Linked DNA regions of Homo sapiens: all the other regions are linked to region 1. Evidence: promoter capture Hi-C in 16 types of primary human blood cells and fetal thymus (Javierre and others, 2016). All regions are on one chromosome and are shown on one strand. The core of a region is centred on a gene start or on the middle of the fragment in contact, and the rest is flanking DNA. Distances in the headings are between cores, read along the strand shown.

Region 1 (3,758 bases), core at 931-3,430:
ACCTTATTTGGATCAATCTTTGTTGTGTTTTTACTGTTTGGGGAAGCTTATCTGTAAAGGCTGCACATCTGTACTGGTTTTGGCTGCTTAGAGAGGTTGCCTCACAGAATCAGCATTATTTAAAAGAGAAAGAGGAAATACAGACTCAGTAACTCTGGTTTTACGAGTTACAAATTCACTTGCAAATTTTATAAACAAGTCTTTTAAGATCACAAATTTGTACATCTAAAACAAATTTGTAAATAAAAGTGCTAGAGTTCATGTGAGTAGGTAGTTAGGTCTTTTAGTTTTTATTCTGCCTAGGGCACTGTCTCAAGGGGTCCTGAGAATGTGTGCCCAGCTAGTTAGGTCTTGAGATAGTGTCCGAGAGTATCATCATCATAGCTGTAGAAAGTTTCCTATCTCAAAAGACCAGACATGTGCAGATAATATACACTGAAAAAGTGTTCTGGACAACTTGAAAAAGGGGACACTGGTACATCAAAGATACAGATGCTACTGGTGCAGATGGAGAATTTGAGTAAAACCATTACATGAAATGTGAAAGAAAAACAGCCATGTTTTTACAGTAATAAACCATAGCACTCAATGTGTGAAGTTAACTAGGCACATGCCCCAATGGTTCTTTAAATAACATAAGAGACTATTTCGTCTACAACCATAGACATGTGGCTGCGTCTTGATTACTGCACTATAAGACTTGAAATTGAGTAGGCTGATTCCTCCCACTTCATTATTCTTTTTCCAAAATTGTTTTAGCTATTTTAGTTCCCTTGCCTTTCCATATAAATTTCAGAATATTGTCTAAATGTACAAAAAGAATCTGGCTGGGATTTTCATAGCAATTGTGCTACACCTGTATAAGCATTAAACCTGGGGAGAACTGATATCTTTACTATGTTGAGTCTTCTGATTTATGAATGCAGTATGTTTCTGCATTTGTTTATTCTTTGATTTTTTTTTTTTTTTTTTAAGACGGAGTCTCACTCTGTCACCCAGGCTGGAGTGCAGTGGCACAATCTCGGCTCACTGCAAGCTCCGCCTTCCGGGTTCACGCCATTCTCCTGCCTCAGCCTCCCGAGTAGCTGGGACTACAGGTGCCCGCCACCACGCCTGGCTAATTTTTTTGTTTTTGTATTTTTAGTATTTTTAGTAGAGACGGGGTTTCACGGTGTTAGCCAGGATGGTCTCGATCTCCTGACCTTGTGATCCACCTGCCTTGGCCTCCCAAAATTCTGGGATTATAGGCGTGAGCCACCGTGCCCGGCTATTCTTTGATTTTTAAAAAACTTTAAAAATTGCTTATTTATTTTAGAGATGTCGTCTCGCTTTGTTGCCCGGGCTGGTTTCGAACTCCTGGATTCAAGCAATCCTCCCTCCTTGGCCCCCCAAAGTGCTGGGATTACAGGTGTGAGCCACTGCACTCAGCCTTGATTTTTTTTAATCAAGCATTTTGGAGTTTTTAGCATACATAAAGCTCTGTACATATTTCGTTAGATTTACACCTATTTCATTTATTTGAGTGATTGTAAGTGGTATTCTATTTTTTAGTGTTCTTGTGATCATTGCTAGTATTTAGAAATCCAGTTGATGTTTGTGTGTTTATCTCATATCCTGCAACCTTGCTGAACTCAGTTTAAACCGGAGGTGTTTTCCTGATAGATTCTTTCGGATTTTTAAAATGTGGACAATCATGTCATCTGCAAATCAGGACGGTTTTCTTTCTTTCTTATGTATAAATGTCAATGAGTATGCAACTATGATGTGCAACTTTCAGCATTGTCCAAAAGTTACAGAGGATGATGCAGTGACTGTGACTTTGAAAAACAAAGAATGATCCTTAAATCACAGCTGCTGCAGCCATTTCAGCTATTTGGCAGAGGTGGTAATGCTGCCTTTTGGACCTACAATACAACCAAGTCTTTGTTCGAATCATCTCACTTCCTGGCTATATTCTTAAGAAAGGAGGGTGCTTCATGCGCTGAGCTCATGGCACAGGTCCCGCAAGTGACCTGCGAGCCCCACCGCTAGGGGCCGCTTAGGTGCAGCCCCCAGGTGGGCGGGGACTGCGTTTCGGGGCGTGGCCTCCGCCGCGGCAGCCCCCGCCCAAGCTCCTCCTAAGCGCCTGGGGGCGCTGTGGGTCGCTTTGGGTCGCGGGGGCGCTCTTTCTCAGCATTCTTGTTTCGTACTGAGGCTTTCGGGACGGCGGCGGGAAGATGGCGGCCTCCAGGAATGGGTTTGAAGCCGTGGAGGCAGAGGGCAGCGCAGGGTGCCGGGGAAGCTCGGGAATGGAGGTGGTGCTTCCTTTGGATCCTGCCGTCCCCGCCCCGCTGTGCCCTCACGGTGGGTCAGAGTCTGGGCTCAGCCTAACTGCCGGGCGCTGAGGGTGTGAGTTGGCTTGGAAGTGGCTTTTGGGGCTCCTGTATTTTTACCCGCCTCTTTCCCTCACCAGTGTGCTGCCTAGAAAATACTCCTTCCTCGGAACGCGGTGTTTTTCAACTTACTTGAGAAACATTCAGAGCAAGTCTCCACTCTTGTGGTTTTGGCTCCAGGACTATTTCATCTCTTTTGGGGGGAAGGGGCAGAAAAGTAGGCAAAGAGAAGAATGCATGGTATTGAATAGTTCTCGTTGACAAGTACTTGGGGATTTCATTTGTTGATTTGCTCTCCCTTCAAAAATAAAAAATTAGGGAGAAAAACAGTGTAATTCTTGCCTGCGAACTAGACTCAGTTTTTCTCTAACTTACAGAAAGTGGGCGTTTCCAGCTCAAAGCTCAGGTTTTCACTGCAAGGGTAACCGCGCAAGAGATGTCAAAGTCCTCAATTCTCTGAGTCCCTTCCTTGTTTTAGTCTCAGGTTTGTAATATTCACAACGTAGACAGCAACTGTACCGACAATAGCATTTTCTTTCTGAAGAGACCGGTTTTCAAAAATTATTTATAAGTAGTCACTGCCGGAATGTTGTAACAGAGAGAAAAGAAACATTCATTAAACACAGAGAAGCCGGCGTGGTGGCGTGCACCTGTAGTTCCAGCACTTGGGGGGCCGAGGCGGGCTGATCGCTTGAGCCCAGGAGTTTGAGACTAGCCCGGGCAAAAATGATGACACTCCGTCTACAAAAAAAGAAAAACAGCTGGGGACACGCAACTGTAGTCCCAGCTACTCGGGATGCTGAGGCGGGAGAATCGCTTGAGGCTAGGAAGCAGGATCTCAGTGAGCCATGATTGTGCCAGTGCGCTTCAGCCTGGGCGACAGAGGGAGACCCTGTCTCAAGAAAACAAAACAAAAAACCCTAACAAAACAAAAAACAACCAACCAAAGAGATGGATTTAATTATGATAAATTGTGCCTAAAGCTCAAACAAATTTTATTTAAGGGCAGCGAAAACTAAGAACTTGACGTAGATGACCATTACTTGACACTTTTTTTTTTTTTTTCTATTCTGGAACTAGGACCCACTCTTCTGTTTGTAAAGGTGACCCAAGGGAAAGAAGAAACTCGGAGGTTTTATGCCTGTTCAGCCTGTAGAGATAGAAAAGACTGTAATTTTTTTCAGTGGGAAGATGAAAAGGTATATCAACTTTTTGGATATTTATTTTTTATTTTTGGTATGTGTGACAATTTTGTTGAGAACGTGTAAACCAATAAAAATATGCGGTCTGAACATACAAGATAAATCTCTTAAGAGAGATGGAGATACTATGTTTGTTGGTTCAGAAAATGAGTTCATGTTTACTCTGATTACTGATATCTTAAAC
Region 2 (3,758 bases), core at 382-2,881, 760 kb before region 1:
CCACAGGGTCAGGATCATCAATATCACTATCTTCCACCTTAACGTATTAACCCACTGGAAGGTCTCCAAAGGCCAGTAACACACATGGAGCTGTCATCTCCTGTGATAACAATGCCTTCTCCTAGAACACCTCCTGAAGGACCTGCCTAAGCCTGTTTTACAGTTAACATTTTTAAGTCGAAGGAGAACACTCTAAAATAATGATAAAACATGTAGTATAGTAAATACAAAAACCACTAACAATGTCCTATTATCATTATTATTATGTACTGGACATAATTGTACATACTATATAGTACTTTTAAAACAACTGGCAGCAAAGTAGGTTTGTTTGAACTAGCATCATCACAAAGCAGTGAGTAATGTGTTGTGCTGTGATGCTGCAAGGTTACGTTCAGCTCCACTATAATCTTACGGGAGCAGCACCACAGCTATCTGAGAAGTTTGTCTTGACCAAAACGTTGTTATGTGGCACATGACTATATTCTAACACATGTGCATTCAAGAGGAGACATAATGAATATCAAGACGGAAAAAAAGAGAGAGACAGATTATGTATGATAGCTCTGGGAGAGGCAAAGGAACTTAAAAATGGAAGGCAGCACTGCGGACAAATGTATTCTAAATTTTATTGAAGTATTAATTCAATTAAACCCAGAAGTATGTAAAACGCTTATTATACACTAGGCAGCCTGTCCAATAAATGACCCAATCAGAAGCTACCCTTGTCAACAAAGTGCGTGTTTTTTTCAAAGGACAATGATACTAAACGGTGAGGAAGAATTTTAGGACATTTACTTTATATTTTTTTAATGTCCAACTGTGTCTCTATATCAAAAAACACAACGTTCTTAAACACAGTAAGAACAAATAAATTACTTTTCACTTATTTCAAACACATCAGTTTTTTTTAAAGGTTATCTGTCTCAAAAATTGTGACACAGAAAACTATTAAAGATTCAATGTTACTAGATCCTCCTTTGAAATCTCAAGTTTCTAAAAGAAAATGAAAGTAGATGCTATTCATCTAAATAAAAAATATAACAAAGCGAACAAATATTTTTTGAAAATACTGCTTTCAAATGTTGTATCTAGATTAGAATGCCCCCTGCTGGCATGCAAATAAAAAATTAAGAGCTCTCCAACTTAAAAAACATTTGAACATAATATAAAACTAGGATTCCAACATTTAAGAGTATCTGCAATTTTGTTAATTTTACTGTACATAAATGAAAAATAAATGCTCAGAAATCACAAAATATCCAGATTTCACACATTAAAAATTAAGTGCTTAAATTAGACATTTGCTTTGTGATTCCAGTATTTTAAAATGACAATTCCAACTTTACTGGAGATTAGACTACCCAATCTGCTAAGTATGCAAGGAGCTAAAACAAAATGATGACTATGTAGGATATAAAGGCATCTCTAAAATGTGGAAGAAATCCCGTAACACTTAAGTTTTTAGATAAAGTCCTAAACAGCTTTAAAACTTGCAATAAAAATTTTCCCTGAGGTTTGCCAAACTTCCAAGAAGTCAACACTATCAGCTGAGAATGCCACAAAACTTATCTGCATTCATCAGAATATAAACAGAAACAGGTAGTGGAGGAAAAGAAGTTTCAACAGCAGCCATCTGCTTAGTCATTAGCAATACTGAGAATAAAGACAGACAGTTCAGGAGTTTTTGATTTGAGAAAAGATTTTTAACTCCAAAAGCAGCAATATGTTAGTAAATTAATCTGGACCTTACCAATTAACTCACTGCATGTTGAAAAAAAAATTTACTAAGCAAAATTAAAAATAAAATTATTTAATTACAATCACTCTTATCTAATTACTATCTAGGCAACACTTTAAACTGTTCTCTCTCCCTCCCAAATTAACTCATGTGACTACAGAAGCACTTTTATTTAGTGGTCAGAATATGTTCTTAAAAACCAGTTTTAAATTTTTATGAGATTACTCAATTTCATGGAGGCTATTCAAATTTATGAAGAAAGGAGTACTGATTTCGCAGTTGCATTTAACTTACCAAGTAAAAATAATGAAGGTTCACAAAAATGAGAAGGTAATATTTACTTTAGACCAGCTCTACTACTAAATACAACAAATGAAATGTAAACAAAACGTTAGGTTTTCTGCTACCTTCTCCCCAAAACTCTTCAAATTCAAGACTGGGAATCTAAAGATAACTTAAAGAAGCAATGGTATGCAAAAAAACAGCTGACAACTAGAGCAGCATTTTATTTCATGAAAGACACTCTAGCATACATCTGAAAACCCTTCGGCTTACTCCCTTCCTTTCCCCAGCTGTGGGATTCACAGAAAATACCGCACAAAGTTGTCTCAGAGAAAAACCTTTCGGGTCCTTAACCATGAGGCCATTTGATATTTCTGATAGAATCTCAATACGCTTATGTTATCTGAGAATGATGACAATTTTAAATAGTGATTTAAAAAATAAAAATATGGCCAGGTGCAGTGGCTCACGCCTGTAATCCCAGCACTTTGGGAGGCCGAGGCGGGTGGATCACCTGAAGTTGGGAGTTCAAGACCAGCCTGACCAACACGGAGAAACCCCATCTCTACCAAAAATACCAATTAGTTGGGCATGGTGGCGCATGCCTGTAATCCCAGCTACTCGGAAGGCTGAGGCAGGAGAATCACCTGAACCTGGGAGGCAGAGGTTGCGGTGAGCCGAGATCGCGCCACTGCACTCCAGCCTGGGCAACAAGAGCAAAACTCCATCTCAAATAAATAAATAATAAAACAAAATAAATAAAAATAAAAATATACTATGCACTTTGGAGGAAATGAGAAACTAGAGACCAGACACAAGAGGACAAAACGATTATCCCAACAGCCTCAATACTACATTACAGCACAAATGCTGTTTATATGCCATCAAAAAAGCATTTTGGGGCCAGGTGTGGTGGCTCGCGCCTATAATCCCAGCACTTTGGGAACCCGAGAAGGGCAGATCACCTGAGGTCAGGAGTTCGAGACTAGCCTGGCCAACATAGTGAAACCCCGTCTCTACTAAAAATTAAAAAAAAATTAGCCAGGTGTGATGGTGGGCACCTGTGATCCCAGCTACTTGGGAGGCTGAGGCAAGAGAATCGCTTGAACCCGGGAGGCAGAGGTTGCAGTGAGCCGATAATCATGCCACTGCGCTCCAGCCTGGTTGACAGAGCGCGACTCTGTCTTCCCTCCCCACCCCCAAAAAGAAAAAGAAAAACCCTTTCGTAAAAGGCTTTTTAAAACTTTGTATTATCCAAATAGCTTCTGAATTTATTTAGCCACTCAGGTATTCCACAGCACACCTATAAACACCCTATTGAAAAGAAGCTTAGAAACGCTACATCTGGCCGGGTGCGATGGCTCACGCCTGTAATCCCAGCACTTTGGGAGGCCGAGGAGAGTGGATCACGAGGTCAGGAGATTGAGACCATCCTGGCTAAAACGGTGAAACCCTGTCTCTACTAAAAATACAAAAAATTAGCCGGGTGTGGTGGCGGGCACCTGTAGTCCCAGCTACTTGGGAGGCTGAGGCAGGAGAATGGCGTGAACCCAGAAGGCGGAGCTTGCGGTGAGCCAAGACTGCACCACTGCACTACAGCCTGGGCGACAGCGCAAGACTCCGTCTCGAAAAAAAAAAGAAATGCTACATCTGAGAATAAAATTTTAAATGAAGTAAATTCTAACTAAGAACTTTTAGTAATCCTTCCCAAATTTCATGAGCATATGGGAAGACA
Region 3 (3,758 bases), core at 782-3,281, 740 kb before region 1:
ACAAAAAGTAGCTGGGCATGGTGGCACACGCCTGTAATCTCAGCTACTCGGGAGGGTGAGGCATGAGAATCGCTTGAACCCGGCGGGTGGAGGTTGCAGTGAGCCGAGATGGCACCACTGCACTCCAGCCTGAGTGACAGATGAGATGAGACTCTATCTCAAAAATAAATAAATAAATCCAACATCTTCCCACCTAAACTTATTCTCAAATCATTCTTTCATATAAACACCCATATTCTACTTCAGAAGGTTAATCACAATGTCAAACTTTTTATTTACATTTTTATTTGCTTTAACAAGAACAGGGACTAGATTCACTTTTCATTATACCTAGTACTGCCCAACACATAGAAGGTACTTAACTATTAGCTGACTGAATGACTAATCATTATGTGTACAAATTATTAGATTCCTTCAACACAAAAATCTCTAATTTTACAGCTTACGAAAAAATAAAAAGGAAGCATATCACCTAAAATAACAGTAAAATTACCTACCAAATTAACAACTTCAATTATTACGTTTTTCTACGCTTACAAGATTATCAAATTGTTTTCTTCCCTAAAAAATTATCAGCTCCTTCAAAAAACTGAAGGTGATTTCCTGAATTAAAATATGTTACAACCAGGCTGGGCGTGGTGGCGGCTGCCTGTAATCCCAGCACTTTGGGAGGCAGAGGCGGGCGGATCACAAGGTCAGGAGTTTGAGACCAGCCTGGCCAATGTGGTGAAACCCCGTCTCTACTAAAAATACAAAAATTAGCTGGGCGTGGTGGCGGGGGCCTGTAATCTCAGCTACTTGGGAGGCTGAGGCAGGAGAATGGCTTGAACCCGCGAGGTGGAGGCTGCAGTGAGCCGAGATCGTGCCACTGCACTCCAGCCTGGGCGACAGAGCAAGACTCCGTCTCCAAAAAAAAAAAAAAAAAGTTACAACCACAGACAAATGCTTCTTAAAATCCACTGCAAAAGGGCTACACCAGAAGCCAACAACCTCTCCTTCCTTACATCAAAATGAATCAAGGTATTTTACACTGACTAGTCACAAATACAGCAATATATTGTTCCCTGACTGGTAAGCTCTTTAGGTATCTCTTTGGGTTTTTTCTTCATAATTTCCACTCCAAGAAAACAGGAAAGTAAGTATGTTGCAAAAAGAATGCTTCAGAAGAAAAGGATGGGGACAAGCAAACACATAAAAAAGGAAATATAAAAACCATTTAGGAGTGGCAGCTTTGTAAACTTACTTGTTCACTGGGATGGGGTAGCCATTTAAGGCTAGACTAACAGAGTGTGCACTAAGTTATACCAGATCCAATCTTCCGAAAAGAGCACAGTGTCAGATCTATAACCTAAAATTTATGAATAGGTATCCCAAACACTGAAGAAACTATCTTATAGACCCTTAATCTATATGCGGACAATTTAAAGATACTTTATTTAGCTAAAATGCTCTCAAACTATGGTTAAATTCTGTGCTCCTCAAACATAATCTGCCTAAGTTAGCCTCTTTACCACCCTAGAGTGAAAATTAAAGTTCGCCCTGGCTACACAATGGATATATAAGCATTTTATATCTATATATGATAAGAGCTACATTTAATGAAGCATTCCCATTAGTTAAGTTCTTCCTATCAAATAGCAAAGTTACATTTGAAATTTTTAAATTTTAAGCTAACTTATTGTAATAATACACTCCTTTACTTATATTACTTAAAGGCAACACCAGGTTAGCTCCTAGAAGAAACCCCAATAAGCTTACCCTGTCTTAAGTAAGCTTTTACAAGTAGTTATAACCTCTAGAAAATGCTCCATTAAAAAAATCACAATGCCAAAAATACTTCATTTGAACTATAAAATCTGTTACTTGTCATTCCCTATGAAGTGAACCAAAATCTTTCAGAGGTACTCATCTTTTGAAAGCCTATCCTCCACCCACTTCCTACTACACATACACACAGCACCAATATTGCATAACTTTCTTGTATCCCAATTTCCAAATTCTGTTCTCAACTGTGGCTTACCAAAAAAATTCAATGCAATGTGAATCAAGTCAGAATAATGATATTCCTCCTAAAGATGAGTAAAATCTCCCCCTTATTATCCTCAAGTCCTTGACATTACCTGCATTTTAAAGTAATACAACATAATGAGCTATGATTTTGCTTATGCAATTATTGTCAATTATACTGTAATTACCAGTGATCAATAACGTATCACTGAACAACTACAAGAATTTATTCAGTGAAGATTAAGGTTTAAGCCAAAAATATGTCCCATAAAGTCATAAGGATAAGCTTATTTAAATATTTTAAAGTTCAACTGCTATTAAATATCACGCTGAATAAAAAGTTCTAATAAAATGAGATAAATCAAAGAATTAGAAAAAACTGACACAAATGTTGAATGAAAACTGGATATTTTGATCCAATAAATTGTTTTAAGTTATGATAGCTCTATTTTAAGAAACTATCTCAGAGATACACACTGAAATATTTATATATATAATTATTTGGTATCTAAGACTGCTTCGAAATAACATGGGACAGGGAAATAAATTAAGATTGGATATGAAATAAATAAGACTGAAATAGTTAAAAGTCGATGATAAACACATGCAGTTCATTATTCTATTCAATTTCTGCGGCTGGGTGTAGTGGCTCACGCCTGTAATCCCAGCACTGTGGGAGGCTGAGGCGGGCGGATCATGAGGTCAGGAGTTAGAGACCAGCCTGGCCAACATAGTGAAACCACAACTCTACTAAAGATACAAAAAGTTAGCCAGGCATGGTGGCGCACACCTATAGTCCCAGCTACCTGAGAGGCTGAGGCAGGAGAATCGCTTGAACCCGGGAGGCGGAGGTTGCAGAGAGCCGAGATGGCGCCACTGCACTCCAGCCTGGGCAACAGAGTGAGACTCCATCTCAAAAAAAAAAAAAAAAAAAAAAAAGAGAGACTCTTGTTTCATTTATCCCATTAACACTATATATCTCTCTGACAACAAAGACTCTGACAACAAAGACTCATATCACTGCCTACACAACGCTCCAAAATGGTTTTTAAAAACCTCAGGGAGAAGATCACATAGATATGATTTTTCTTTTTTTTTAAAAGAAATGTGGTCTTGCTATGTTGCTCAGGTTCAAATGCAGTAGCTATCACAGGCATGATCAGAGCACACTGTAGCCTTGAACTCCTGGCCTCAAGCAATAATCCTGCTTCAGCCTACGAAGTGGCTGGGAATAAACAGGCATATGCCACTGAGCCCCACTCAAACAAGTCACATTTAAAAGGACTTAAATATCACATAAATACAGAATAAGCAGAAGCAACCAGAGGGAAGACTTGAGAAAGAATCATCATCAGGTAGCATACATCATAACTTATGCAGAATGCAAGTATAAGACAATAAAAAGTTGGTAGAGTTAAAACATTAGAAAGCTCAATACAGTAGTCAATTATCTGCACCATAGCTATAGAGGAACAAGGACCTAGAGGCAGCTCTAACAGTGTATTACAGAACAAAAGATTCCTCTTTTTAGCTTATAACAGATGCACGGTAATAGCTGCATAATTAACATTAAAAGTCCCCTCTCCCCTAAATAAATCACATCCCATCCTATACATTCTTCTTTCTAAAAGTAGTTATCTTTTACTAAGTAAGACATATCACTTTCCTTTTCTTTCACAATTAAGTCATACACCATTGTGTCTACTAAAACCACACATTTTACAGTATCAGTAACATTTCACCTAAAATGC
Region 4 (3,758 bases), core at 90-2,589, 600 kb after region 1:
GAGCGATCTCAGCTCACTGCAAGCTCTGCCTCCCAGGTTCCAGCTATTCTCTTGCCTCAGCCTCCCAGGTAGCTGGGACTACAGGCGTGCACCACCACGCCCGGCTAATTTTTTTGTATTTTTAGTAGAGACGGGGTTTCACCATGCTGGCCAGTCTGGTCTCGAACTCCTGACCTCATGATCCACCCACCTCAGCCTCCCAAAGTGCTAGGATTACAGGCGTGAGCCACTGTCCACAGCCCTCACCTGGGTATTTTCTATCGTGTGATATAAAGCTGGTGTCACAGTTCCCTCTGTGCTATGAAGTCTTCTGTCCTCATCCTAACAAGCTCCTGTAAGTGCCCGAGGAGCAGCTGCCACACTGCAGTCATCTGTCTTCCTCCTCTGAATTTCTGTAGCCCGCAGGACCATAACACGTGTCGGCAGCACGCAATGTCGGTCATTAGTTATCTTTTTATGGATATGTTCTATCTCTTCATCTATGCGACAGGATCCTAGAGAGCAGGGGTCACATCTTATTCATCTTTGTGTCCCCTTAGCACTCTGCCTGGTGTTTGGGGCATGGCAGATAGTCCATGAATCTGGGGAGAGATTGAATAACTGATTTACATGCTTCTAGAGCCACAGAGGTAGACAGTAGCTTGATGCAACTACAAGATTACAAAGAAAGAGGAAACCTGTCCTCTCCAAGCTATTTTGAAACGCTTGTAGATCTGTTGTGGCCTAAATAATGCTGCTAGGGTCAAGACAGATATCCTCTTTGCTCCCCAGGCCCAGCTGCTGGCATGATTCCTATTTATAAAGGCATGGAGGCCCAAGGAATCTGTGTCTCAGCTGCCCAGTATCCCTGGGCAGGTCATAGTCAGGCACAGCCCACTTGTAAGGGCAGTGTGGTGCAGAGGGCGGAGGATGGCAACTTGAGGAGGAGGAAACAGGTATCTGTTCTCGGTGGCCCCCACCCAGACAATACGGAAGCGCCCCGTGGCCCCATGGATGGGACCGGATGCTGGCTCTCTGCCTTGGCCAAGGCATCCCAGCACAGGGAACAGGGAGAGAGGATGGGATGGAGGGAGAGAGGATGGGATGGAGAAAGAGAGTAGCTCGGATGCTGAAACAACGTTCCTCCTAGGCTAGTCTTGGTGCAGAAGCCCCGCAGCTCCGGTTTTAGAATCCCCCAGCAGGCCCTCTCGGGCCAGAGATTTGCCCCTTTGTCTCTGATACGTACAAACCTCCCTCAAGAAGGACGAGTGACTCGTCCAAAGCCGCGCAGCGGAGCCGCGGTTCCCTCTCCTGTAAACTAAGCAGACTGATAAAAGGATTAATTGCGCGAGCGACAGAGAGCATCTGGCGCACGGCGGACAGTCGCTAATTAAGAAATTAACGGGGGATGGACGAGAAAGCTGGCTGGTAAAGAAGGCGATGGTAAAGGAGGTCTGGAGGGTGCTGAGGGAGGAACCGGGCCGAAGGAAGGAAAGTAGACAGAACAGGGCCCGCGGGAATCGAGTGCAGCAAAACAGCTCCAACCTCAATCCAACGCCAGCGCCCGGCCCGCACAGCACGGAATCCCGGGGAAGGCGGAGGGCGGGGTCCGAGGCCCCGCCTGTGACCCCACCCCTTTCCTGGCCCCGCCCCCAGCCTTGAGGCCCCGCCTCTGACTCCACCCCTGTCTCTTTCTCCGCTCCGCCCCTCCTCCTCGTCCCTCCCTCAAGGCCCGGAAGCGAAAGCCTCTCCACCTCTTCCGAGCGGGGTCACGGCCCGGCCGTCGGTAACCTGGTTTCCGAGAGTGCCGGGCGGTCGGCGGGTCAGGGCAGCCCGGGGCCTGACGCCATGTCCCGGAACCTGCGCACCGCGCTCATTTTCGGCGGCTTCATCTCCCTGATCGGCGCCGCCTTCTATCCCATCTACTTCCGGCCCCTAATGAGATTGGAGGAGTACAGTGAGTGATCTCTAACCCCTTGCGGTGACCTGACTCCCCAACACACACACCTCCCCTCTGTGAGCTCCACGTGGTGCCGTGGAAAGAACTTGGCTCGAGGGTTAGGGAGAGCCGGGTTCGAATCCTGCCATGTGCAGCTTTGTGACCGTGGACAAGTTGCTCAACCTCTAGGACTCTCAGTATCCTCATCTGTGAATGTTTGTGGCTACGTCATCTATGCTAAAATGCCGAGCCTCCTGTGAGACTCAGGTGATCATGTATATGAAAGCAGTCCTCACATAAGTCGACGCTAAGTACCAGTTCATATTTACAGTTAAAATTCACTGAATGCCTATTACACGTCAGGTTAGGCATATGTTGGATCGTTTCATTTGCACAAGCTCACCTTGAAGTATATATGTAAAACATGCCCATTTTACAAATGAGGGAACTGAGAGGCTCAGAGGTTTTATAACGTTCCCAAGGTCACACAGCAAGTAAGTGACAAGGCAAATATATCCAACCCCAGGCCTCTGTCCAGAGCCTCCTCCAAGCACCCAGGCTGAGAATGGTGACTGGGGGAGCCAGATGGAACCCTGATCCTTCTGAGTGGAAAGGTGCTTTTACTGCACTTCATTTCCACTCCCCAAGATGTTTTTTGAGTGGGACTGTTTCAAACCCAAACTGTTAACCTGGGGTTTGTAGTGTTTTCTCTTCTTTTTCCTCAAATTGTTTTTCCGATTCTGCTTGTTTCCTTCGTTTTAAGCCGATTGCTCACATGGTAATGGTGAAATCCTGGGAGTAATTTTCCTTCTTAATCATTCCAGTCCTATCATTCTAAAAGCCAAACTCTTCTTCCTTGAGACCTATACCTCAGCAAGGATTAGCACTTTGATACATCTGAAACCATCTGTCAGACAGAAAATATTAGGCATTAGAGGCTCATTTTGTTCACCAGGAAACCCGAATCATCTTGAAGATGGAAGAGGGCCAACCCTGTCCCTTGGGAATATTAACGGACACTGAAAGCTTGGCGAATTGAAGGCGAAAGCTCCGTGTAAATGTTCTGCCCATTACAAATGTTGCAGCAGTCGATTTCTGGAGGCAGAGCGTTTTAAGTGCACACTCAGATTTCCTTGTAGCTTCTTTTCATTAGCCAAGACTGAAATGGCCACTGTGTTCTGCCTTCCAGCTTATCTGCATGCACCATGCGTGGGAGTAAGGTGGGCTGTGTGAAGCCCTGCGGGATCTGTTTCCACCATCCTTCTTCAGCGGACGCCTGCCCCAGCGATTATATTGAGGCCACTAGAACTTGGGACAAAGGGTCTGCTTTGCATCCCATTGGAAAAGTCAGTTCTGAAAACTAGAGCTGTGGTTCTCATCTAGGGGTGATTTTGCCCCGCAGGATATTTGGCTCAATCTGGAGACATTTTTGCTTGTCACAACTTGGGATGGGGCGGGGGGGGGGTCGAGTGTTGCTACTGGTTTCTTGTGGATAGATGCCAGGGATACTGCTAAACTTTTTGCAGTGCATACAAGACAGACCCCCATGACAAAGAATTACCCAGCTTAAAATTCGAGTGGTGCCTTGGTTGAGAAACCCTGCTTGAGATGAAATGGTCAAGATGGGGACTTGTACTGTGTATCCCAGCAACAGTCTTTTAGGGATACTCCAGAATCTGTGGTTGTCTGAATGTCTTGAGACAGACAAATCAGGTGATGTTCATCTGTGGGTGAACATTTAGTGAATGTAACTATAATATCTGCATTTTTAACTAGAAGGCAGGCAGTCTGTGCCTTCCCACTTTTCTGGTTCCTTTTTGTTTTTTTTTCTTTTTTTCCG

Evidence for each region. Contacts are between HindIII fragments. The CHiCAGO score rates a contact against its expected background, and 5 or more counts as called.
Region 2: a contact is called between a fragment that was not itself captured here and the fragment with the promoter of ZCCHC4 in region 1, in 3 of 17 cell types (erythroblasts, fetal thymus and monocytes). The highest score is 6.6, in erythroblasts.
Region 3: a fragment that was not itself captured here is called in contact with the fragment with the promoter of ZCCHC4 in region 1 in 2 of 17 cell types (total B cells and naive B cells); the score reaches 5.5 in total B cells.
Region 4: a fragment that was not itself captured here is called in contact with the fragment with the promoter of ZCCHC4 in region 1 in 3 of 17 cell types (non-activated CD4 T cells, naive CD8 T cells and total CD8 T cells); the score reaches 7.2 in non-activated CD4 T cells.

The regions. Positions count from the first base shown.
Region 1 is chr4:25,310,594-25,314,351 of GRCh38, forward strand. It overlaps ZCCHC4 (zinc finger CCHC-type containing 4), which reads left to right and starts at 2,181. Exons shown (of 13, transcript NM_024936.3): 1 at 2,181-2,343; 2 at 3,453-3,571. The coding sequence starts at 2,217. RefSeq lists enhancers at 108-247, 1,835-2,711, 2,240-2,299 and silencers at 1,960-2,029, 2,037-2,241. The HindIII fragment of the contact is 7,197 bases long and covers 45-3,758 here.
Region 2 is chr4:24,550,568-24,554,325 of GRCh38, forward strand. All of the region lies in intron 5 of DHX15 (DEAH-box helicase 15), which reads right to left. Among named protein-coding and RNA genes, the nearest start is that of DHX15, 32 kb to the right of the region's middle. RefSeq lists an enhancer at 2,623-3,191. The HindIII fragment of the contact is 3,436 bases long and covers 1-3,349 here.
Region 3 is chr4:24,566,670-24,570,427 of GRCh38, forward strand. The region is part of intron 3 of DHX15 (DEAH-box helicase 15); the gene reads right to left. Among named protein-coding and RNA genes, the nearest start is that of DHX15, 16 kb to the right of the region's middle. The HindIII fragment of the contact is 520 bases long and covers 1,772-2,291 here.
Region 4 is chr4:25,912,487-25,916,244 of GRCh38, forward strand. SMIM20 (small integral membrane protein 20) reads left to right here and starts at 1,734. Exons shown (of 3, transcript NM_001145432.3): 1 at 1,734-1,936. The coding sequence starts at 1,828. It overlaps LOC105374538 (a long non-coding RNA gene), which reads right to left and starts at 1,600. Exons shown (of 3, transcript XR_925502.3): 1 at 1,525-1,600. RefSeq lists enhancers at 1,021-1,570, 1,680-1,779, 1,850-1,979 and a silencer at 1,460-1,639. The HindIII fragment of the contact is 3,206 bases long and covers 1-2,942 here.